7 separate regions of the Homo sapiens genome follow, and regions 1, 2, 4, 5, 6 and 7 are each linked to region 3. The links are contacts of gene promoters, found by promoter capture Hi-C in blood cells and fetal thymus (Javierre and others, 2016). All regions are on one chromosome and are shown on one strand. The core of a region is centred on a gene start or on the middle of the fragment in contact, and the rest is flanking DNA. Distances in the headings are between cores, read along the strand shown.

Region 1 (3,052 bases), core at 28-2,527, 360 kb before region 3:
CTGAACGTCGCAGCGGCGGGTAAGACCCTCCATCCCGCATCCCACTCTTGCCCCCAGATCCCCCATTCTCACCTGGGCAGGTCACCTCTAGGCTCGCTTCTTCCCTACCCGACCCACCTCTCCGCTCGCCATCGTCTCCCGCCCCACCCCCCAATCCCCATTCCCCCGCTGCTCCCGATCTCTTCCAGTTCTGAGGAGTTCCTTCTTCCCGCCTGCCCTTCTCCGGTGCTAACTCGTTTTTCTATTTCAGGAGCCGTGCCGCTCTTGGCCACCGAAAGCGTCAAGCAAGAAGAAGCTGGAGTACGGCCTTCTGCAGGAAACGTCTCCACCCACCCCAGCTTGAGCCAACGGCCTGGAGGCTCTACCAAGTCGCATCCGGAGCCGCAGACTCCAAAAGACAGCCCTAGCAAGTCGAGTGCGGAGGCGCAGACCCCAGAAGACACCCCCAACAAGTCGGGTGCGGAGGCAAAGACCCAAAAAGACAGCTCCAACAAGTCGGGTGCGGAGGCAAAGACCCAAAAAGGCAGCACTAGCAAGTCGGGTTCGGAGGCGCAGACCACAAAAGACAGCACTAGTAAGTCGCATCCGGAGCTGCAGACTCCAAAAGACAGCACTGGCAAATCGGGTGCGGAGGCGCAGACCCCAGAAGACAGCCCCAACAGGTCGGGTGCGGAGGCAAAGACCCAAAAAGACAGCCCTAGCAAGTCAGGTTCGGAGGCGCAGACCACAAAAGATGTCCCTAATAAGTCGGGTGCGGACGGCCAGACCCCAAAAGACGGCTCCAGCAAGTCGGGTGCGGAGGATCAGACCCCAAAAGACGTCCCTAACAAGTCGGGTGCGGAGAAGCAGACTCCAAAAGACGGCTCTAACAAGTCCGGTGCAGAGGAGCAGGGCCCAATAGACGGGCCCAGCAAGTCGGGTGCGGAGGAGCAGACCTCAAAAGACAGCCCTAACAAGGTGGTTCCAGAGCAGCCTTCCCGGAAAGACCATTCCAAGCCCATCTCCAACCCTTCTGATAACAAGGAGCTCCCCAAGGCTGACACAAACCAGCTTGCTGACAAAGGGAAGCTTTCTCCTCATGCTTTCAAAACCGAATCTGGGGAGGAAACTGACCTCATTTCTCCCCCGCAGGAGGAAGTTAAGTCTTCAGAGCCTACTGAGGATGTGGAGCCCAAAGAGGCTGAAGATGATGATACAGGACCCGAGGAGGGCTCACCGCCCAAAGAAGAGAAAGAAAAGATGTCCGGTTCTGCCTCCAGTGAGAACCGTGAAGGGACACTTTCGGATTCCACGGGTAGCGAGAAGGATGACCTTTATCCGAACGGTTCTGGAAATGGCAGCGCGGAGAGCAGCCACTTCTTTGCATATCTGGTGACTGCAGCCATTCTTGTGGCTGTCCTCTATATCGCTCATCACAACAAGCGGAAGGTAAGTCGACAGCGGCCTTCCGGAGGGGAGTGGGGTTTCCAGCACCCTGGAAGCTTGGGTGTGGGTGGGTATCCCGTCACTAGATGCCCGTGAGCACTGGGGACTTTAAAACAAACTTCAGTTTTTTCCTCAGGCCCTATTAGGCCTCTTTACTCTTGTTTTGTTAATCGTGTTTTCATCCTGTCACCTGTTTACTCTGAGTGTCCTCTGCTACTGCATTAGGAGCCAAGTTAGGACATTATTAGGATCTGACCTGACTTGGAATCTCCTCCCATAACTTTGCACTTAGGTCCTTCACAGCCTCAGAGGACCTGAGTACTTGACAGTTAAAGCACGTACCTTCCATCCTATTTCCCTTCTTGAGACGATATGTCATTTCTAGCTTCCTTTCCCAACATTCTCTCTTCCATCAGCAGTGGCACAAAGAATGGTTTCAATTACTGCGTCTTCGATACCAGGACCAAAGAGCCCAGGGACTTCTGCAATTAATAATAATTAGAAGAAAGCCCAGAAATTGCACAGACACGTACACCTGTTACTTTTTCATCAGGGTTTGGTCTGTTTATTAGCAACCACTCTAATGACAAAATGATTGCATTTCATATTGAGCCCCCAACATTTAGAAGCTAGTTTCTGTAACCTGCTTAAAATTGGAGAGTCCAATTCTGGCCATAAGGCCTATGGCTATAAAGAATAAAGGGGAAGACCTTTAGTAAAAATGTGCATTCCTGGCCCGGTGCAGTGGCTCCTGCCTCTAATCCCAGCACTTTGGGAGGCCGAGGCAGGAGGATCGCTTGAGCCCAGGAGTCCGAGACCAGCCTGGCCAACATAGCAAGACCTCGTCTCTACATATAATAAAAAAATTAGCCAGATGTGGTGGTGGACGTGTGTGGTCCCAGCTACTCAGGAGGCTGAAGTGGGAGGATGGCTTGACTGTGGGAGGTCGAGGCTTCAGTGAGCCATGATCACGCCATTGCACTCCAGCCCGGGTGACAGAGTGAGACCTTGCCTCTAAGAAAAAAAAAAAGTGTATTTCTTATTCTATGTCCAAGTGTCCATTATGCAGGGTAACCTTAGTCATGAAATGAGATTGATAAAGAATGTAGTTGATGTAGCATCGTGGGGTGAAAAAGTACATTTGTAGATAGGAAATTCTGATTATGACTTTTTTTAAAGGAATGTCCTATATCCTAGATATCTCTAGGAAGGAGTTGATAGATCTTTGACTGTGTACCTTTGAATAAATCAAACAGACTTCCTCCCACACGCTAGAGCTCAGACAGCCTTCTATTTGTTATTTCCTATTAAGCAATACAAAGGATTCTGATGTAATTAGGCTCTGTCTTTCTTAAAATGGTTATAGTTTAAATAGACCTCTGTGAGTGTACTGCTCTTTCTACAGTCAGGGTCATTAACAAATATGCTACCAGGTGACTGCCTCTGAGTTCAGAGACTGAACTATGTCATTACAGAGCCACCTGTTAATCATTTTCTTTTTCCTTTCCTCAGATCATTGCTTTTGTCCTGGAAGGAAAAAGATCTAAAGTCACCCGGCGGCCAAAGGCCAGTGACTACCAACGTTTGGACCAGAAGGTAAGGAAGGAGGAGCCAGGTCCATGGGAGG
Region 2 (3,213 bases), core at 317-2,816, 450 kb after region 3:
TTTTGAACTTACCAAAGGCTCTAGTTTTATAGGCTGCTGTCGTTTTCTTGTCTTCTCCTGAGCTTTTGTAATGTGCCTAAACGTTAGGATTTGTGTATCAGATTCATTTTCTGTGGATGTCACATAACTCACTCTTTGTTTGGCTTTTATATTATTCAGTCTTGAAAGTGCAGAATTTTCGGCATACTCTTCAATATTTGTCAGGTCAAATTCACTATCTGTGGCCCGAAAAGTCATCCTTACTCCTGAAAAGAATAGGTGAGGAAAAAGAAAATGAAAAGTAGATCAAAAGGATTGGGGAAGGAGGCTACTGGAGAGGGACTTAAGGACTAGGAAGAGTTGAATTCGCTCACTTCCCTCAAATAAAACCCATCAAAGTTACCCCAGTCTTCCCGAACTGAGGACTTGAACCAAAGGAATAAAAAATTAGAAACTGTGCCTAGGCTTCAAGAACCCCTGTAGCTAGGGTGGAACCCAGGAATTTGCATTTCTTGCAAGTTCTTGGCGGATGCTGCTGCTGCTGCTCATCTGGAGACCACACTGGTCTAGATTTGGAAGGACAAAAGGAAATGTAATTAGTATTGAGATCAATGTTTCTCATCTCCTGCGGAACTTGTTCAAAATGCAGCTAATTCTAGTACACGCAGTCTGAAAAATACAGTATAGGTACTCAAGAAGAAACAAAGGGAAAAAAAAGAATTGAGGGCTAATTTCTTACACAGTGCTTCTGGAGCTTTAACGTGCAGGACAATCACTTGCAGAGCTTGTTAAAATGAAGGTTCTGATTCATACACTTTGAGTAGCAAGGTCCTAAAACACTAGAAATATGAGCCTTTTGTAATGGTCTTGCACTCTGCACCACCACGCACACTTTCACCCCATTAGATGAGTGGAGATACTTCGAAACACCTTCCAAAATAGGGTTAGCACAAGAGGTCTTGAATCAGGTGTCGGCAGACCTAGGTTTTATATAGATCAGTGCTGGCCAATAGAAATATGAGAGCTTTGTATGCAATTTTAATTTTCAAGCAATAGCATTTTTAAAAAAGAAATAGGTGAGATTAATTTTAATAATATGTTTTATTTACCATATACAAAACATAATCATTTGAACACACAGTATAAAAATTATAGTGATATCTTATGTTGTCTTTTGGTACCACGCCTTCAAAATCCAGTGTGCTTTTTACATATGAGCACATTGCAATTCAGACTAGCCACACGAGGTCTAAAGATTACCGTATTTAACAGCGCAGGTCCAGATTTGACCACTCAGCGTGAGATCTTGGACAAGTCTTTTGATATCGCTATTGCTCACTTTCCACCCCTCTAAAATGATGGGCGGATAGCAGACAATCACTGAAATGCCTTTCCATTGATTTTCTCTGCCTCTTTGAGCCTTTATGTTCTCCGAAAGTCAGACTTTGTTTCTGGCCCAGAAATCGGAGCCCAGGCCCGAGGGTCGGTTCCCAGGACTCACCAAGTCAAAATACAGCAACCACCGCCGAGGGTCTCCAGAGAGAGCAATGCCTGGTCGGGAGTAGAAAGTACTCGGTAGCGCGGAATGTTTCCTGTTGCTGCGTAGCAACCAGCTGGCCTCTACGGAAGCACTGCGCCACTGAGTAACACGTCGCCAGGCAACGCCTCAACCAGCCACAGCTTTCGGTCCAGGAGCGCGCCAGGCAATCGAGCCAATTAGTGTCTCCGAAACATTTCCTACTTCGCTGATTGTTGGAGAAGCCGCACAGCCTGGTTCCTCCTCTGCGCTGGGAATTGAGTACTGTGCCAGGAGGTGTAGGCAGAGCAGCCAAAGGAGGTGGTTAATTCTGTTTGCTTCGTTGCTTATCGACCACTCACACCCATCTCAACCTCTTACAGGAATTTCTTTTCTGTTTTCCTTCAAGAGGCGTAAGACTGACTTGACGTTCACTTTAATAGAAATTTATCCGAAAGAGTCGAGAATTTCAGGAGAGGAATGTGGGTTGTGTAGACAAATGAGGTCCCACTCTCCAAGGAAGCAACCACTCTGCATCCCTGCCCTACCCGCCAACCTCCTCCCGAGTGTCTTAAGGCTCAAGAAATGTGGCCTCCTCTTCCCTTAAACTCCACTGTGGCCTTCCAACTAATGTCCTTTTCCACTTGGAAGGTAACCTAGGTGTCAGGCATAGGATGAGCCCGTATTACTTGGTTCCCGTGCCCCTTCTACCAAAGCAGACCCTGGATCTTATTCTGGCGTTTAATCTCACTTAAGTTCCCAAGTGACTGTTGCTAATTTTGTATGGAGCGACCCCATCGAAGGCCAGGGCCTGTTGCTTACTCGGGATGCCTTATCCCAGTTACTGATCAGGGGAAGAAATCCTTTCACCTGTCTTGATGAATCCTTACACCACATGGAGGAGCTCTGGTTTTCAACCTTGTCTCCAAAATGACATAATCATCATTTTCTTTTGCTCTTTTCGGTTGCTCTTTGTTACCTTGATATTTGTTTCTTGCTCTATGTGAAGTTCTTTACATTATTGTACTCACAGCCTGCATCTTCTCAATCTTAACATATTCAGTTATGTATTTGATATGGTAGTATGATTCTCTAAATCACAGATAGAGCTAAAATGGAGATTACAGGTCACATAGTCCAACTCCCCTATTTGATTTGTAAGGGAACTGAAGCCCAGAGAAAGCAAGTGCTTTACTCCAGGTCAGGCAGCTAGTTGTGCCACAGACAAAACTAGAATGCAGATCTCCCAATCCCTAATGAGAAACTGGAAACAGCAAGAGAGTAAAGTCAGTTTAGAAAAAATTTTAAAAATTCTGAAAAACTTCAAATGTAGACAAAATAAAGATTAATTCCCCAGAGATGAAAAATACACACAAAACTAGTCAGCTAGTAAAATGCAATCATTGATATAAACTAATAATGGAAAAAGAAATTCAAAGCCAACTCAGTACATCGAAGCATAAAGTTATAATAACAAGCAATGTTAGACACATCCTCAGAATAGATTTCATTTCAGATGTGCAGTGAAAATTTTAATCTGTTCCCTTCAAAGTTTATGCAATGGAGACAAATCTATTGCTCCTCAATCCTAGACTCCCTTTTTTAGATTAAGGTGGATTGTACACAACTGTTACCATGTGCAGCTGAAAGCATTCCAAAAGCTAAGAAGTGTGTGTGTGTGTGTGTGTGTGTGTGTGTGTGACTGTGGTGAAGTGGGG
Region 3 (3,404 bases), core at 641-3,140:
TATCCCAAATTGAAAACTGATTATAACTTTAATTACGAGTTCTTAAAATTACAGAGATAAGGATACATTTCGATTAAGCAGACGAAGTGGGGAAAAGAGGCATAGCTTCCTACTTCTGTGTCCCTTTCAATGAGGCTAGGTACCTCATTATTTCAAAATGCCCAACACTTGAACACTGTAAGTACTCAACAAATGCTTTGCGAAGAAAATATAGTATATTTCATATTAGTTTTGTAACTTTTAAAATACAGAATCGTTGAACACAGAATGTTGAGTCAATTTCAACGTCGCAATTAGTAATGCGAATTTTGAAACTTGTTCTAAATACAATTTTAATCAATCTGAGTTTTTCAGCCTTGAAATTCTAAGGTCCGTATTTCCCAAAGAATATCCTTCCCATAGTGCTAAGCACACACTAAACTGACTCACTAAACTTTCTCCACTCCTACATCACCTATACAGGATTTTAAAATCCGGAGTACACAAACTTTCAAGCCACTTCTACAATCTTGTATTAACCTTAGCAGGACAAACTTTTCGCCAAGACTCTTAACACTTTTTATCCAAAAACCTGTAGTAGTGAAACAAAGAAAACACAACCCCCTCCTCCTTTTCTAAACCATATGGCAATAAATTAAAGTTAACTTATTTCTTACCAGCTCAAAGCCTATACATCGACCCTAAACATTTGTCTCTTTGTGCCCTGGGACTGGGCTTAGAGCTGTCTGCTTATTTGCAACTGTACTCCAATCGTGTTTTAAAATGGCAAAACAAGGTCCAAAACGACCCCCGACCATGAACAGACCTCACCATCGTCATTTTCCAAAACCTGGTCTGGTAGGCAGCACATGCCGGCGAGGGCACCAGGGCCGCGGGGAGCGAGCCCTGCTCCGCCTGGGTGACTGAGCAGGGAGTTTGCTTGCTGCGGCGGGGTCGGATCCACCCCGGGAACTTGGTTACCCGAGCCCAGGGACGCGCCGAGGCCTAGCCGCGAGGCCGGGGCGGGCTCCAGGCGGCGAGGGCTTCCCGTCCCTTGGCCGCAGAGCCTTCCCGCCAGCCCCGCGGTCGCCCGCAGGCGGGGACACTCGCCGTCGTCTCCCGGCGACCGGACGCGCCTGCCGGGTCCCGGGCCGGCTCTTTTGCCTCCTGCTGCCGCCCGCGGCCCGGCTCTGCGACCACACCGGGCTCTTCCGGGGCGGCGGGAGCGCTAGGCCGCGCTGGGGCCCGCGGCTCCTGAACCGGCCGGGCGGGCCTTGGCGTCCGGTATCAGTCCCGAAGGCCGAGCTCCCGCCGGTAACGGGCCCCGCCGCCTCCCCTCCCCCTCCGCCCCATGACAGTGCAAACCCTCCGGCCGCCCGGGCCGCCCCGCCTCCAGCACCAGGCCCAGCTAAGGGCCGCGGCCGTGGCGGCAGCGGCGCCGCGGCTCTCCGCCCTCGCTCGCTCGCTCCCGGGTCCAGCGCCTCGGGCCCGGCTCGGGCTCGGCCAAAGTCTCCGCCGCTTCCCGGCCGCCCTCCGCCGCGCCCGGCCCGGGCGGGGTAGGCCGAGGCCCGGGAGGTGCGGGTGGGGGCGGGGGCTCCTCTCACCTTCATGTCGGGACATCCTAGTTCAGACGGTGGCGGCGCGGCCCCTCCCGGGCTCCGGCTGCAGTGTCCCCCGCGGGGTCCCGGCGCTGCCCGCGCCGGCCGGCCGACTCCCACTCGACTCCCGGGCTCGGCCGCGGGGGCGGGGTGGGCAGGGGAGCGCTCCCGCGGCGGCGGCGGCGGCGGCGGCGGGGAGGCGGCGCGGGGCGGGAATGGGGCCGGGCCTGGTCGGGGCTGAGCTCCTCCAGGAGGCGGGTCCGACGCCGCAGCTCCGCCGGCGCCCGCCGTGACTCCGGTCACTCTCGGGCCTGCCGGCTCCCGGCAGCGGCGCGGCGCTCCGCAAATCCCGCTCCTCCCCTCCCCCGGCCCACCCCCCGCCCCTCTCCCCCGGCTCCCGGCCGCCGCCTCCTCCTCCTCCTCTTCCTCCTCCTCCGCCTCCTTCCGCCGCCCGCACGCCAGCCCCGCCTCTCGCTGCCCTCGCCGGGCCCAGCCGCCCGGAGGCCCCGCGGCCGGCGGTCGCGACGGGGGCGACGCGGCGACGGCGGCTCGGGGCGCGGCGCTTGCCCGCGCTAGCCAGCAGGCCGCGATCGGGCGCCCGTGCCCAGCCTCGGCCTGGCCGCCGCCGCCGCCGCCGCGCCGCGCGTAGGGAGGAAGAGGAAATGCCCGGCGCCGGCTCCCGCTGCTCACCGGCGCGGCCCGAGGGGCGCCCGCCCGCCACGCCGCCCCTAGCCCCGCCTGGGGCGGGCCTAGGCCGGGCTATAGGGGCCAGGGCCTTGGGCTGCGCCGGCCGCGGGAGGTGGGTGCTTCTCGGCGGCGAGCTGCGACTCGGAGAGACTCCTGTCCGCAGGTGCATGGCTTCCGGGCGGGCCTCGGGCAGCGAGCTCCAGCCCCACTGAGAGGCCGCGGACCGCCTGGGGACTTGTGTTTGTGTGTATTTTAAGCCAACAGCCCAGAAAGGGAAGGCGACTGGCCCCCGGTCTTCGCCAGTGTTTCCCGGCCGGGTTACTGGTGGTCAGGAGGGAAGCCAGGAGGCTGCCGGGCTCCGAGGCCGATTCCTTGCGAACCATCTCCGTTAAAGACTCCGCGCCGGGCAGCCCGGGAGTCCGGCGGTACCCGCGCAAACTTTGTCCCAGCGCCTTGGCTCACCGTGAATGCCCTGCCTTGAAAATTTGGAGTTTTTTGTTTCCTGAAAGTGGTCTGCTTTTCCGATTTTATCTGTGTTTTCCATTTTTACCTTCTTATTGTCAATTTGTTTTCAGGCATTATTAATTCAACAAATCTTTGTACTGCCCCTTACCACGTGTCGATGGTTCCGTGGTTTGGTGGAAATAGATCGCGCTTTGAAGTCAAGACGGATCGGCCATGGAATTTTGGCTCTGAGATCCTCTGTGTAACCGTGGATGAGCTACAAGGCCTGCTGAGCCTCCATTTGTCTGGTTTTTGTGGTTGTTTTAATTTATCTTTTTCCATTTGAAGTTGTGGGTTTTGCATAAAATTGAACTGTTACCAGGCTAAGTCAACTGAAATTGGAATCTGGGGTACTGCTTGCTTTGAGGTTACTCTTATACTGTCCACCATTTGCTGGCTGTGTGATCTCTAAACCTCTCTGTGCCCTGACTTTTCTATCTTTAAAATGGACGTAACAACAGAGGTTTAATAATAAGAGGTTTGGAGGTTAAGTGCTAAAATGCATATAAAATACCTAGCACAGGACACAGTAAAAAGATTGTTACCGTATTTCATTGAATCTGGTTTTAAGACACTTCCTGATTTCAAAGAAACTAAAAGCTCATCTTGAAGTCCAGGAAGTAGGTTTTGGGTCAC
Region 4 (2,962 bases), core at 448-2,947, 350 kb after region 3:
AAATGAATAAAGAAAATTATTTCATCTAGACACATCCTGGTAGATTTTCATAATACCGAGGATCAAGAGAAAATCCTATAAGCTGCCACAGACAGAGAGGAAGCAAAATATTATTAAACCTCCAAAATGTATTAAGCCATGATCAGTTTTATCATTAGCAAAATGCACACTAGAATACAATGAAGTGAGGCCTTCAAAGTCAGGTGAGAAAATCATTTTAAACCTATAATTCCACCCTCTACAAATTATCAATCAAGTATGATGACTCAGTAAAGACAGAATATTTATAAACTTGAATGGGAAAAAAATTGCTCAAGGAAGTATTCCAACAAAATTAAAATGAAACATAAGAAAGACGCAAAACTGAAATACAAAAAACAGTGGCAGCTGAATCTACTCTAGAACAGTGGTCCTGAAATCTGAGTGTGCATCAGAATCACCTGGAAGTTTGTTTCAAAAAAGCCTCTTGTTGCTGTGCTCTAGCTCCAAAGTTCTGATTAAGTAGGTCTGAGGTGGGGCTTTATAATTTGCATTTCCAACAAGTTGTCAGGTGATGCTAATGCTGTTGGTTCAGGGTTCACGCTCTCAGAACCACGGTCTCAAAGTGGACCAGTATCGATTTGCACCACCTTGGCGGATGTCAGAAATGCATAATTTCAGGCCCCACCCCAGACCTGCAGATCATAATATGTAGTTTAATAAATATCTCCGGGTGATTCACAGCACACAGTAGTTAGAAAAATAATGGTTCTGGCCGGGCGCGGTGGCTCACGCCTGTAATCCCAGCACTTTGGGAGGCCAAAGCGGGTGGATCACGAGGTCAGGAGTTCAAGACCAGACCAGCCTGGCCAAGATGGTGAAACCCCCATCTCCGCTAAAAATACAAAAATTAGCCGGGTGTGGTGGTGGGCACCTGTAATCCCAGCTATTCAGGAGGCTGAGGCAGAGAACTGCTTGAACCCGGGAGGCAGAGGTTGCAGTGAGCCGAGATTGAGCCACTGCATCCTGGGCAATAGAGCGAGACTCCGTCTCAAAATAAAAAATAAAAAAAGAGAAAAATAATGGTTCTAGAAGAAGTAAAGAAAGTGGAAAGAAAACACAGTCCACTAACCCTGAAGCTTAGGATGTTTACTTTGAATGGCAGGGGTTTGTGATATATGTATTGATCTTTCTCTGTGGGGCCAATTATTCTATTAAATTCCACTATGAACAATCTTTGATATTATAAGCACTGTATAAGGGATTTACATTTTTATGTTCAGCCCCCAGACAAAGCAGTGAAGACATAATTTAGTTATAGAATAAAATACAAATTTTATAAAACTTGACATGGTAAAAGTGAGGTTGAAATAGAAAGTCCAACTTCATTAGACACACAAAGTTGTGTCTAATAAAATCCTCATCTATTTAATATGTTGGCAGATAGTGTCCAAAGTGGGTACATAAAAATATAGAAACAAATGTATGTTTTTACAGTTTAAATAGCAACCACCAGAAAAAATAAAGCCAAACAAGGATCCCTGCAAATCCATGAGTTTTTTTTTTAGGGGATCTGTGAGGCCAAAGTGTTTTCATAATAATACTAAGGTGTTATATGCCTTTTTCATTCTCACTCTCTCATGAGAGTATAGAGTACGAAAAGATGTGTATATGGTTTAAGTTTTAACATAGCAAATAACCTTTAAGAAACTAACATTTGTCAAGTTTTGGTGTAGTTCAAAGAAGAGTATAAACAATTAACTGAAAAAGTTATTTAAAAAAATTCCTCTTTTCAGAGTCCATATCTGTGTGAGGTTAGATTTTCTTCAAATGTTCAACCAAAAAAACATATCCCAACAGACTGAATGTAGAAGCAAATCAGAGAATCTGGCTGTCTTCTATTATGCCAAATATTAGCATAATAGCAATATCTTGAAAATATTAGAGATTTTCAAAAATATAAAATAGTGGGACAATGTTTTTTGTTTGGAAGTTTTGTTTTACAAAAACATGTTTAAGTTAACATATAATGGGCTTACTGTTATTTTTTTAACAAATAAATATATAAAACATATTTTACTTAATTTTTTCTAACATGGTAAATATCAACATACGTAACCCATATGAACAAAAGCTCTTTGGAAGTCTCAATAATTTTTAAGAGTGTAAAGGGGTCCCATGACCAAAAAGTTTGAGAACCACTGTATTGAAAAACCTTACCATGAATTCTCACCTCCCACATATTTCATGTTCAATACACCATTCTCTAAATTGCCAATTTCCTACTCTAAGCTTAGTCCTTGTTCTTCGGTTTCCCTGCTATTCTATCTTGTACCTCATCTCGTTTCTTTCTTCTTACTGACATGTACAGATTTTTATTTTTTTCACCATTTGACAAATCATCCCCTGGCCTTGATTCTTATCCAGACTACCCAGACCACCACGTGTTGACTCTTCTCCCTTGCTCTATTTATTCCACTTTAACCATTATTTACCCCATTTCTTTTCTCTTGCTTGTCATCACTCCATTCTTGCCTTATTTTGTTATGTCATGTTGCAAATAGAGAAAGACACATAAAACACTTAATGTTAATATTCAGATGCAAGAACTGTACCTTGTAGTCCAAACCATCTGAACAGTTAAAGACCACACACTGGATGGCAAGAGCTTTTGCCAGATCTTTGGTAGTCTCTGTTTTCCCAGTGCCAGCAGGACCAGCTGGTGCACCCCCAAGGTCAAGCTGCAAAGCTCCCATGAGGCAAAGATAGCAGCGATCCTGAAGAAAGCAATGCATTATCAATATGAAGGGAACCAACTCTGGCCACAAATTAAGGCATTTCCTCTCTATGGGGGAAGGATTATTATTTTCTATGAAAAATATAGCAATTGAAATACACCAAAAGATCCATGCACATAATTAAATAATGCAAATATTTGCTTTACAAAGATGTATTCATAATAAATTCTTTCAAGAGTTAATGT
Region 5 (3,087 bases), core at 17-2,516, 490 kb after region 3:
AGCCACTTTCAACAGCAGTAAAATTCCCCTCATTTACCATCTTCAATTCATTCATGTGACCTCCTTCCTCCTGGATACTGGGCAGGAACTCAGGTGGTCTGAGCATCTTGGCCCAATTCAGGGAAATTCTAAGGGTTTTGGCCAAGATTGTTGTTGGGCCTATAACAAACAGCTGGACCTCTCCCACTGCCCAGTCTTGCTCTCTTCGCTTCCTTTCAACATGCTTGGTCCCCGGGGTACTCTTGCACACAGGGTATTCAACTTTGGCTTTTCAGGGGGCCAAATCTGCAATAGGGCTCAAATATGAGGAAAGAAAACTATATTTGGAATCCATTTCTTCTGGAGGAGAGGTCAAAGTTCTTGACATTCCTATAAGGTCCAATGCAGATGGAACCTCCCCTTCAGAGGTGCTGAGTGGATCAAGCATTCAACAAACTGTCACTGGATTCCAAGAGGGCCCTGTAGGTGCATTTCAGAAAGTTCCTTGTCCTCATTTTTTGGGAAAGGCAACCTCCCAACAAGCAGTGCCACTCTCTGTCAGAGGAGAAGGAAAGAATCTGCCTCTGCTCAAATCGCCCAGTGGTATTAGCTGGTTCTTTCTTAGAATTGTGCTGTGTGATTCTGTCTCTCTTGGAGGCTGCACTTCAGATGAAAATAATCCATGGCCCTCCTGATTCATCTTTCCTCATAGTTCTCCTAGGAGGAAGTGTTAAGTGTTTCTGATTTGTGTTGTACCATCTTCCCTAAATAAGGTGAAGGATACAAGCTCCCTAATCCCTCTGCTGGTTTTATGAAGGGATTAGTAGTACCTACAGTGGGGCCTGAGGGCTTAAGCTGGCTCATCAGCCCCGGAAGCCTGTCTCTCTTGGTTACACTACATTTCTCTTCAAGTGTACATACAAGTACACTGGGGACAAAGCAGCTGTTTTTCCTTTAGAAGGCAGATTTTCTTTTTCCAGAAAGAAGTTGTCAGAACTGGGCATAGAGAAGGTTCTTTTTGTTCCATTTCCATGTGGCAGAGTCAGATTGCCTGGGTGAATTCATACAAAGCTTTAGCACATCCCGATTCTAGAGGTAAGATACTTTGTAATACTAGCAAATGCTTTTCCTTCCCATATTACCTTCTATTCTTTCACTCTCTCCTCACAAATATTCAGCCCCCTTTCCCCAGTCAATTTCTGTTTGGCTTTCTTGGTCCATTGCTTCAGGAAGGGAATGTGTAACTTAAAGACCTCAGGAAAGAAATAACTTAGATTTAGGACAAAAATGTGAGTCAATGTGTCCATGATCAGTAAAGGATCCTCGGGTTAGGGAAGAAGGGAAACCATGAGAGCTTAGGTGCTATCCCCCCATCCCCACTACCCCAGCATGTACTTGAAAGGAGGTGGGTAGTCAAAAGAATTACCAGACAGGTTTGAGGGGTCTGTCAGAGGCATGTGAACCAGAGAAACGCCATCTTAAATAGTATTGGGAAAAAGCTTAGTGTTGGGAAAAAAGCTGAGGCAGGGCTTGCATGTCTGACATAATGTCCTCTGGAATGTGTCTAGACTTGCTGGCTCCTTGCTTCTAGCCCTCCTAGGCTCCTAGATTGATTGTATTCCCATTATCTCAAGTAGCAGAACATGTTCCATATAAATGCTAAACCATCACAGCTGTAGATCATGAGCCTGCCCTTTTGACCCCCACATTCTCACCACCTGTTTCTTTGTTGGATTACCAATAAATAGCATGGGCTCCCAGAGCTCAGGCCTTTGCAGCCTCCACAATTGCAATGGCCCCCTGGTCCCACTTTCTCTCTCAAACTCTTTTTCTCAATCCTTTGACTCTGCTGGACTTTGTTGCCCCCACCTGCCCCCAACATTCCTGGCTGCCCAACGTGGGGCGACAAAGACCCCAGTGAAGGAACGCTAGAGCATGTGAAAGTGGAGGATGCGCCGTCAAAGGACACCTGAGGACATTTAAAAGAAGCTCGGTGGGAAAGCTGAGTGCTTGGAAGAACCAGGGTAACAACAGGACAAAGTGAAAGCACACATTCTGCTTATTTAAATTTCCTAAGGCAATTATTACAAAGAGGGGGAGTGAAAGTTAGTATTCAGAATTTGTTAACACTCTGTAGTGCAGTAAAGCAGTTTTGCCCATGGTTCACGGAACGAGGGACTATGGAGTTGGATGAATGGGAGAGAATTGGCAGAGATTTTAAAAACGCGTATAAGGATGGAGCAAAAATTCCAGTCTCAGTTTGGTCAATGTGGGCGCTAATAAAAGCAGCTCTTGAGCCATTTCAAACAGATGATGAGGCAGATTCAGATGAAGAAGAGGAGGATGAGTGTAAAAATCTAACTTCAGATTCTGAATGTGAGGAACAGAAAATGGAGAAAATTAAAGAAAAGAAAGGGAAACTGAAAAAAGTATGTTTTACTAGCCCGTCGGTTCCAACTGCTGAATTAAGTGAAAGGCCACCTCCTTTCTCTCCCCTTAATGGGCCAGAAGATGAATTAGCTACAAAACTTACTGCTCCTGTAGTTGCAACATTAAAACCTGGAGCAATTGGTGGTGCTATACAAAATTCTATTCAAAAGGCTAGAGCCGAGGGAGACCTTGAAGCATGGCAATTTCCCGTAACTATAGTCCAGCAGGGAGGAAAGAATATAGCTAATTGGACCACCTTTCCTTTTAAGCTGTTAAAGGAATTCAAGCCATTAGTCAATATGGGCCAAATTCTCCTTTTGTGCAAACTTAATTGAAAAGTTTCTCTTGATAATAGATTAATACCATATGATTGGGATACTTTAACAAAATCTGTTTTCACTCCACCTCAGTACTTGCAGTTTAAAACCTGGTGGGCTGACGAAGCTCAAACTCAGGTAAGGGAAAATACACAAGCACAACTACCTGTGCCTGTTTCCTTTGAACAGTTAATGGGAGTCAGACCTGATTGGGGTCGATTAGAAAATCAAGCAGTAATGGAGGATGTTGCCATTGTTCAGCTGTGCTCTGTGTGCTTATGGGCATGAGAAAGGATAAATGTTACAGAGGAAAAATATCCTTCTTTCAGTTCTGTCCGACAAGGACCTAAAGAATCATATA
Region 6 (3,363 bases), core at 676-3,175, 430 kb after region 3:
AAAGATTCTAATTGGAATCCTAATCCTAACTACTGACTTAACAAAGTTTCTCAAATTTACATGATCACAGAACACATCTGTTAACCATCTATCAATGAGAATCATTTAGGTCTAATGTTCTTGGAAAGACACATAGGGAAACACTGAGGTATAGGAGACATGGTGTCCTGTTTCATGGCATTCTGTGGACCCAAAAGATGCTCAGATTTGGGGGAAGGCTCCGCCATACAATCTGAACTATCTGTTAGATTTTAATAGCTTTAAACTTGACATTGCACAGAGAATGAAATCATAGAATTGAAAGATGGGAGCATCAGACATTATTCTGAATTTCCTACTGCAAATCACAAAACAATATCAAATAGAAAAGTCTTTAATCTATACCTCAATTTTCTTATCTTTCCACTACATATAATGCCATTCTAATGGGATGTTTATGAGGAAGAAAGAAGATTAATGTACAGAAAGCACTTGGCACAATGCCTAACACAGTGTGTGTGACACAAATGCAGGAGTAGTTGTCATTATGAGGATGAGTATATTAAGTGGCGTGCATGAGGACTTGGGTTCTAAAATCCAAATAATCTGAATCTCAGCTCCATGACTCACTAGCTATGTGAACTTAATTCTGTGACTTTCATCATTTGTAAAATGGGTATATCAATCCTACCTACCTTAAAGAGTTGCTGTGGAGATTAAATGAGCTAATACATATAAAACATTTAGAACAAGATTTGGCATATACTATAGTTGGTGTTAATACTATCATGTTGCAGTACTCACCCATTAACATCACAAAGACTTAGTACCCCACTATGCCTTATAAAAGCACCCACAGTTCCTTATCAGTGTGAGCAAGTTTATATTTCAATGGCCAAAACAAAAAACAGCAAAATGTGAATTTATATAATTGAAATAATGGTGAGGTGAAGGGTTACGTAGATATGAAAAACACCTACCATCTACTAGGGAGAGAACTTTTTAATATCAACAGTGGGTCCTTTTATACCAACCTGAAAAAGGAATACTTAAAAATTGCCTCACCAGGGGTCTTCTTAGATACAACTAAATGTTAAAACTCACAAGACTTTCATATACTTCTATTTGGCATCCATCTACTCAGAAAAACCCGGAACCACTTATTGCCTTCAGGGCAGCATCAGACATTACTTTCCCATTGGAGTCCTTGCAGCAGTCTAATAGCCACCTGGGAGCTATCTTCTCCCTAGGTGTCAACTCAGATGCAAAAAGATGAGATCCACATTGAGTGCATATGAAAGCCACTCTGGCCTAAAAGCCTTATTACTCACAGGAGCCAGCATCTCTTGCAATAACCCCATAAGCATAGATTTCAGCATTCCTACAGGGCACATGCTCAGAAAAAAAGAATCTGAACTATGGGAAGTCAAAAGCTATGACTCCCCATAAGGTATTTATAATTATTTCTTAGTTCCTCCTAATGCAGCTATAATTTACTAATTGATGTCATTTTTATCATAAGCAATGTTGCCTATAAACAATATTTTACGTTTTTTAGGTTATTGAGGGTACACAGCTGCAGGATTAGCCAAAGGTCAGATTCTTATGCAGGAGAAAATCATTCTACAATCCTCTAGCACAATGCTTCTCAAACTTTGAATGTTATAAAACCCATGCAATAATAACATTTTATAAGGCACACTGATATAAACTGCAGGGGCTTGGTGAAGACATTAATTACAATTTCTTTATATAATATGACAAAACACAATGCACATAATATGTGAGATTATATAATTTTTAATTTGGGACATAATTATCCCAAATTAGGGATATAATATTTGATAAAACTTCCAATTATGTCTAGCTCATAAGCAACCACAGCTGTGACCATAACTTTTTTGAAGTAGCTACATCATGTCTAATCAAGACATGATGAATGATCTGTCCAAGTTCTTGAAGTCACCACTCCTAAGAAACTTTGTAAAAGTAGCAGGCAGCAAATGGCAGAAGATGATTTATTTATTGTTTTGTCTCTGACAGATGAAAACTCCCTTTTCGACTAGTCAAAATTTGGATACCTTGTTCTCTTGAAATTATTCACCAAAGGTACCACCACTCTTTAACTCTAACAGTTGTTACTTGTCTTTCTTTGATGCAGTGTTGACATTTCTTGTAATGATTTTAGAAACAATGGTGAAGATTTCTCTCAAACACAGAAGTTATTCTATTTGACTTAATAATCTTTCTTTAGGTTCAAATCCACAGCAGCGTCTAAAAAATCATGAGAACCATTTTAAACATTACGTTTCCCAAGTTGAATTTTTGCTGTCGATTCCTAATCTTTGTCAGTAAGTGTTAATATATTTCCTGGCAGCTGCCGTAATTTTTCAGTTAAGCTATTCAGGTGGTCAAATGTCAATTAAGTAACCCAGGTGTGTAACTAAGAACTAACCTTTACTAAATCTGCAAAGTTGGATCATTTGCAAAATACTTCCCAATTCTTGATAAAACTCATCCTTTGGATTGCCAATGCACTTAACTATGAAACAACGAAAAATAGTATTTGTTCTCAGTTTTTTGTAGAAAGCTAAAAACAAATGGTTATGTGGTTGATAGCTTGGATTTTATCATGGACATCATTTTGACAATATTTTTAAATTTGTAATTCATAATTTTAGGAAACCATTTACATATGGAAGTCCCTCTGCAAATAACATATTACTTGAATACCAGTGCTATCAGAGTAAACCTTGGTTGTAACAAACATTTTTAAGAAGTATTTTCATAATACCTCATTTGCCTTGAATATTTAATCCCCAGAGAGTTCTTTTTTCTTCTTCCTAAACAAAGTTCTTCCAGACATTTCACCTCAGAGACTCTAAATAGTGCTGTTGTCTAGCAGTTACTAATGTCTACAGATTCATCAATATGCAATTAAATATTGCAATAAAACTTTAATAATGTCTTGGATTATGATCATCTATATCATCTAATATGTTGGTCTACTAATGATGTTACTGATTTTTTTTTTTTTTTGCTTTTCTGGTTCCAAGTAGTATAAAAAACTTCCACACAAGCTGGTAAAATCACAATTCTACAATAGTGATTCATTCTGATGTTAGATATTATGTGTTCTTGCACTCCTAGCTTCTTGAGCTTCTTTATCTGATACTAATCTAAAAACAGAAATTTGTTTCATATTTTGTTCTTGTAATGCTTTTAAAAGCTCAAACCCTTTTCTGGGTGGGGTGGATATCTCTGAAAAGGTGTTGAAATAACTTGTTTGACACCACTGGTTAATTTGATAACATTTTTATACAAATAAGATATTTAGGCAAAAGGACAGGTCTATTACTGTAGTTTACAAATCTAAGTTTGAGA
Region 7 (3,377 bases), core at 510-3,009, 470 kb after region 3:
TTGGAAAGGAATAAGTCAAATTATCCTTCTTTGCAGACAGTATGATCTTATATATGAAAAAATGTAAAGACTCCACAAAAAAACTATTAGTACTGATAACCAAATTCAGTAAAGTTGCAGGATACAAAAATCAACATACAAAAATCAGTAGAATTTCTATATGCCAACAGTGAACAATCTGAAAAAGAAATTAAAAAGTAATCTCATTTATAATAGCCACAAATAAATTAATTCCCTAGGAATTAACCAAACCACTGAAAGATTTCTATAATGAAAAGTATGAAACACTGATGAAAGAAGTTGAAGAGGACACCAAAAAATGGAAAAATATTCCATGTTCATGGATTGGAAGAATCAATATTGTTAAAATATCTATACTACCTAAAGTAAGCTACAGTTTCAATGGAATCCCTATCAAATTATCAATGACATTCTTCACAGAAATAGAAAAGACAATCCTAAAATTTATCTGGAACCATAAAAAGACCCAGAGTAGCCAAAGCTATCCTGAGCAAAAAGAGCAAAACTTGAGGAATCACATTACCTGACTTCAGTTTATACTACAGAGCTATAGTAACCATAACAGCATGGTACTGGCATAAAAACAAACACATAGACGATGGAACAGAATAGAGAACCCAGAAACAAATCCACACACCTATAGTGAACTCATTTTGGACAAAGATGCCAAGAACATACACTGGGGAAAGACAATCTCTTCAATAAATGATGCTGGAAAAACTGGATATTCATATGCAGAATAATGAGACTAGACCCCCATCTCTCACCATATACAAAAATCAAATAAAAATGGATTAGAGAGCTACATCTAAGACTTCAGACTATGAAACTGCTATGAGAAAGCATTGGGGAAAATCTCCAGGACATTGGTCTCGGAAAAAACATTTCTTGAGCAATACCCCACAAGCGCAGGCAACCAAAGCAAACATGGACAAATGGGATCACATCAAGTTAAAAAGCTTCTGCACAGCAAAGGGTACGATAACAAAGTGAAGAGACAACTCACAGAATGGTTGCAAACTACCCATTTGACAAGATTACTAACCGGAATATATAAGGAACTAAAACAACTCTATTGGAAAAAAAAAAAAACTAATAACCTGATCAAAAAAATGGGCAAAAGGTTTGAATAGACATTTCTCAAAAGAAGATGCACAAATGTCAAACAGGCATATGAAAAGGTGTTCCACATCCTTGATCATCAATGTAAATCAAAACTACTATGAGATGTCATTTCACCCCAGTGAAAATGGCTTATATCCCAAAGATAGGCAATAACAAACTCTGGGGGATGTGGAGAAAAGGGAACCCTTGTACAGTGATGGCGGGAATCCAAATTAGTACAACCACTATGGAGAACTGTTTGGAGGTTCCTCAAAAAACTAAAAATTGAGCTAACATATGCTCCAGCAATCCCACTGCTGGATATATCCAAAAGAAAGGAAATCAGTATATTGAAGAGATATCTGTACTCCTATGTTTGTTCCAGCACTGTTTACAATAGATAAGATGTGGAAGCAACCTAAGTGTCCATCAACAGATGAATGGATAAAGAAAATGTGGTATGCATACACAATGGAGTACTATTTAGCCATAAAAAGAATGAGATCCAGTCATTTGCAACAACATGGGTAGAACTGAAATCATTATGTTAAGTGAAATAAGCCAGGCACAGAAAGACAAACATTGCATGTTCTCACTTATTTATGGGATCTGAAAATCAAAACAATTGAACTCATGGATACACAGAGTAGAAGGATGGTTACCAGAGACTGGGAAGGGTAGTGGGGGGTTTGTGGGGAGGTGGGGATGGTTAATGGGTACCAAAAAATAGAAAGAATGAATAAGACCCACTATTTGATAGCACAACAGGGTGACTATAATCAGTAATAACTTAATTGTACATTTTAAAATAATTTGTAGAGTGTAAATTGGATTGTTTGCAAATGCTTGAGGGGATGGATACTCCATTCTCCATGAAGTGCTTATTCCCATTGCATCCCTGTGTCAAAACATCTCATGTACCCCATAAATATAAGTACCTACAATGCACCCACAACATTAAAAAAATTTAAAAACAGCAAATGGATGTGTGCCTCTCTTTGGTGACAATTGGGAAGATGAAAGATAAGAGACTTTACCATTTGACAGCTAACCCAGTCAGTAAGGAAAAACCTAAGGGACAGTGAGGGGTGACAGCCACCAAATAAGAGGAATGTGAACCCCATGTCTGAGGCTGTGGTGCTATTTAAAAAAAAAAAAGTAGCACATGAATAGCAGGGCAGGTGCTGAGATGGGACTCTGGGTCTGAGCAGTACAAAATGCAGTGTGCTCTTGCTTATTTTTGCTGCTTTTGAATTCTGCTCACTGTCACTTTAGAAGCAGGAGGCCTTTGGCTTGAATCTGGGTGTTTTCCACAACCTCACTAAATTACTCAGTTTTAAAAGAAACCCAACTTCTCAAATTTTTTTTTTTTTACTTGAGCAGGTTTCTATTCTAAAAACAAAAAAAGCTTTAGATTTAGAATTTTTTGATGAAGCAAATGTAAAATGATTCAAACAAATACTAGGGCTTTATGCACACCAAGAAGCCTTTTTGAGCCTGCTCTGAATAAGCAATACATCAGGGCCAGGTGCTCTGAAGAGTAAGGCTGAGAGTCTAAAGACAGGGTGATGTCTAGACATGCTGCCAAAAAAGTGAGTTTGAGAACTCTATTAGTGTCATAACTGGTGTGACCTAGCATGAGACTCCTTGGTCCCTTAGCCTACAGATTCATGGAAGAGGGATTGGGAAAATATCCCAGCTGTAGTATCTAGTCTCTGCAAGACCTTTGGGAAGTACAGAATGAAGCACAGAGATTCAGGACAAGTTGTTTGGTTTTCTGCAGTACCTGATTGGTGGCCCTATGGAAGTTTAGGTACAGAAACCTATCTTGTCTGGAAGGACCTTGCTGTACATAGTGTACATGGCCCAGAGCTCATGGTGGAGAACGGAAGGGCTGGGAAGGGCCAAGACCTCTTCTAGGGATGTGGGCAATATGCCAAAGGGTAGGGACAAGCTGAGATCTGGAGGCCATGTTGCTTTTCAGGGATCACTTTTGGGTCTGTGGCTGCAATTCTAATGCCATCTATTGCCAGTTTGCCCAGATGCCTTAATACTCTTACCTGGTTCCTTTCTGCTTATTTTCATCCTAATGTTAGGCCTTTGGTTATTCAATAATGATTTTGTTGCTAAATTACAGTATGCCTACTCATAAAAATATGTTATCATACTAATGTTCTGAGCTTATAAAAATCCAATTTGCCAACTTGTTTTTACTGTTTTAAATACACCCTAGCAATAGCCTATGACAGAGA

Evidence for each region. The method cuts DNA at HindIII sites, captures the fragments that hold promoters and counts their contacts. A CHiCAGO score of 5 or more calls a contact.
Region 1: a contact is called between a fragment that was not itself captured here and the fragment with the promoter of KCMF1 in region 3, in 6 of 17 cell types (M2 macrophages, fetal thymus, M0 macrophages and 3 more). The highest score is 6.8, in M2 macrophages.
Region 2: a contact is called between the fragment with the promoter of DNAH6 here and the fragment with the promoter of KCMF1 in region 3, in 9 of 17 cell types (naive CD8 T cells, non-activated CD4 T cells, total CD4 T cells and 6 more). The highest score is 19.6, in naive CD8 T cells.
Region 4: a contact is called between a fragment that was not itself captured here and the fragment with the promoter of KCMF1 in region 3, in 1 of 17 cell types (total CD4 T cells). The highest score is 5.3, in total CD4 T cells.
Region 5: a contact is called between a fragment that was not itself captured here and the fragment with the promoter of KCMF1 in region 3, in 5 of 17 cell types (naive CD8 T cells, total CD8 T cells, non-activated CD4 T cells and 2 more). The highest score is 8.0, in naive CD8 T cells.
Region 6: a fragment that was not itself captured here is called in contact with the fragment with the promoter of KCMF1 in region 3 in 2 of 17 cell types (total CD4 T cells and naive CD8 T cells); the score reaches 7.3 in total CD4 T cells.
Region 7: a contact is called between a fragment that was not itself captured here and the fragment with the promoter of KCMF1 in region 3, in 9 of 17 cell types (naive CD8 T cells, total B cells, naive B cells and 6 more). The highest score is 12.2, in naive CD8 T cells.

The regions. Positions count from the first base shown.
Region 1 is chr2:85,324,884-85,327,935 of GRCh38, reverse strand. It overlaps TGOLN2 (trans-golgi network protein 2), which reads left to right. Exons shown (of 4, transcript NM_006464.4): 1 at 1-19; 2 at 251-1,428; 3 at 2,938-3,021. Among named protein-coding and RNA genes, the nearest start is that of TGOLN2, 1.6 kb to the left of the region's middle. RefSeq lists enhancers at 755-934, 1,175-1,344. The HindIII fragment of the contact is 413 bases long and covers 1,071-1,483 here.
Region 2 is chr2:84,514,851-84,518,063 of GRCh38, reverse strand. It overlaps DNAH6 (dynein axonemal heavy chain 6), which reads right to left and starts at 1,566. Exons shown (of 77, transcript NM_001370.2): 1 at 1,481-1,566; 2 at 13-245. The coding sequence starts at 237. The HindIII fragment of the contact is 7,595 bases long and covers 1-3,213 here.
Region 3 is chr2:84,969,647-84,973,050 of GRCh38, reverse strand. It overlaps KCMF1 (potassium channel modulatory factor 1), which reads right to left and starts at 1,890. Exons shown (of 7, transcript NM_020122.5): 1 at 1,584-1,890. The coding sequence starts at 1,599. RefSeq lists silencers at 1,016-2,105, 2,136-2,385 and an enhancer at 2,884-2,963. The HindIII fragment of the contact is 10,310 bases long and covers 1-3,404 here.
Region 4 is chr2:84,624,696-84,627,657 of GRCh38, reverse strand. It overlaps DNAH6 (dynein axonemal heavy chain 6), which reads right to left. Exons shown (of 77, transcript NM_001370.2): 29 at 2,595-2,756. Among named protein-coding and RNA genes, the nearest start is that of DNAH6, 110 kb to the right of the region's middle. The HindIII fragment of the contact is 1,153 bases long and covers 1,121-2,273 here.
Region 5 is chr2:84,475,808-84,478,894 of GRCh38, reverse strand. It overlaps a transcript of DNAH6 not described here. Among named protein-coding and RNA genes, the nearest start is that of SUCLG1, 18 kb to the right of the region's middle. The HindIII fragment of the contact is 428 bases long and covers 1,053-1,480 here.
Region 6 is chr2:84,535,339-84,538,701 of GRCh38, reverse strand. The region is part of intron 4 of DNAH6 (dynein axonemal heavy chain 6); the gene reads right to left. Among named protein-coding and RNA genes, the nearest start is that of DNAH6, 21 kb to the right of the region's middle. The HindIII fragment of the contact is 3,953 bases long and covers 1-3,363 here.
Region 7 is chr2:84,497,624-84,501,000 of GRCh38, reverse strand. It overlaps a transcript of DNAH6 not described here. Among named protein-coding and RNA genes, the nearest start is that of DNAH6, 17 kb to the left of the region's middle. The HindIII fragment of the contact is 1,553 bases long and covers 983-2,535 here.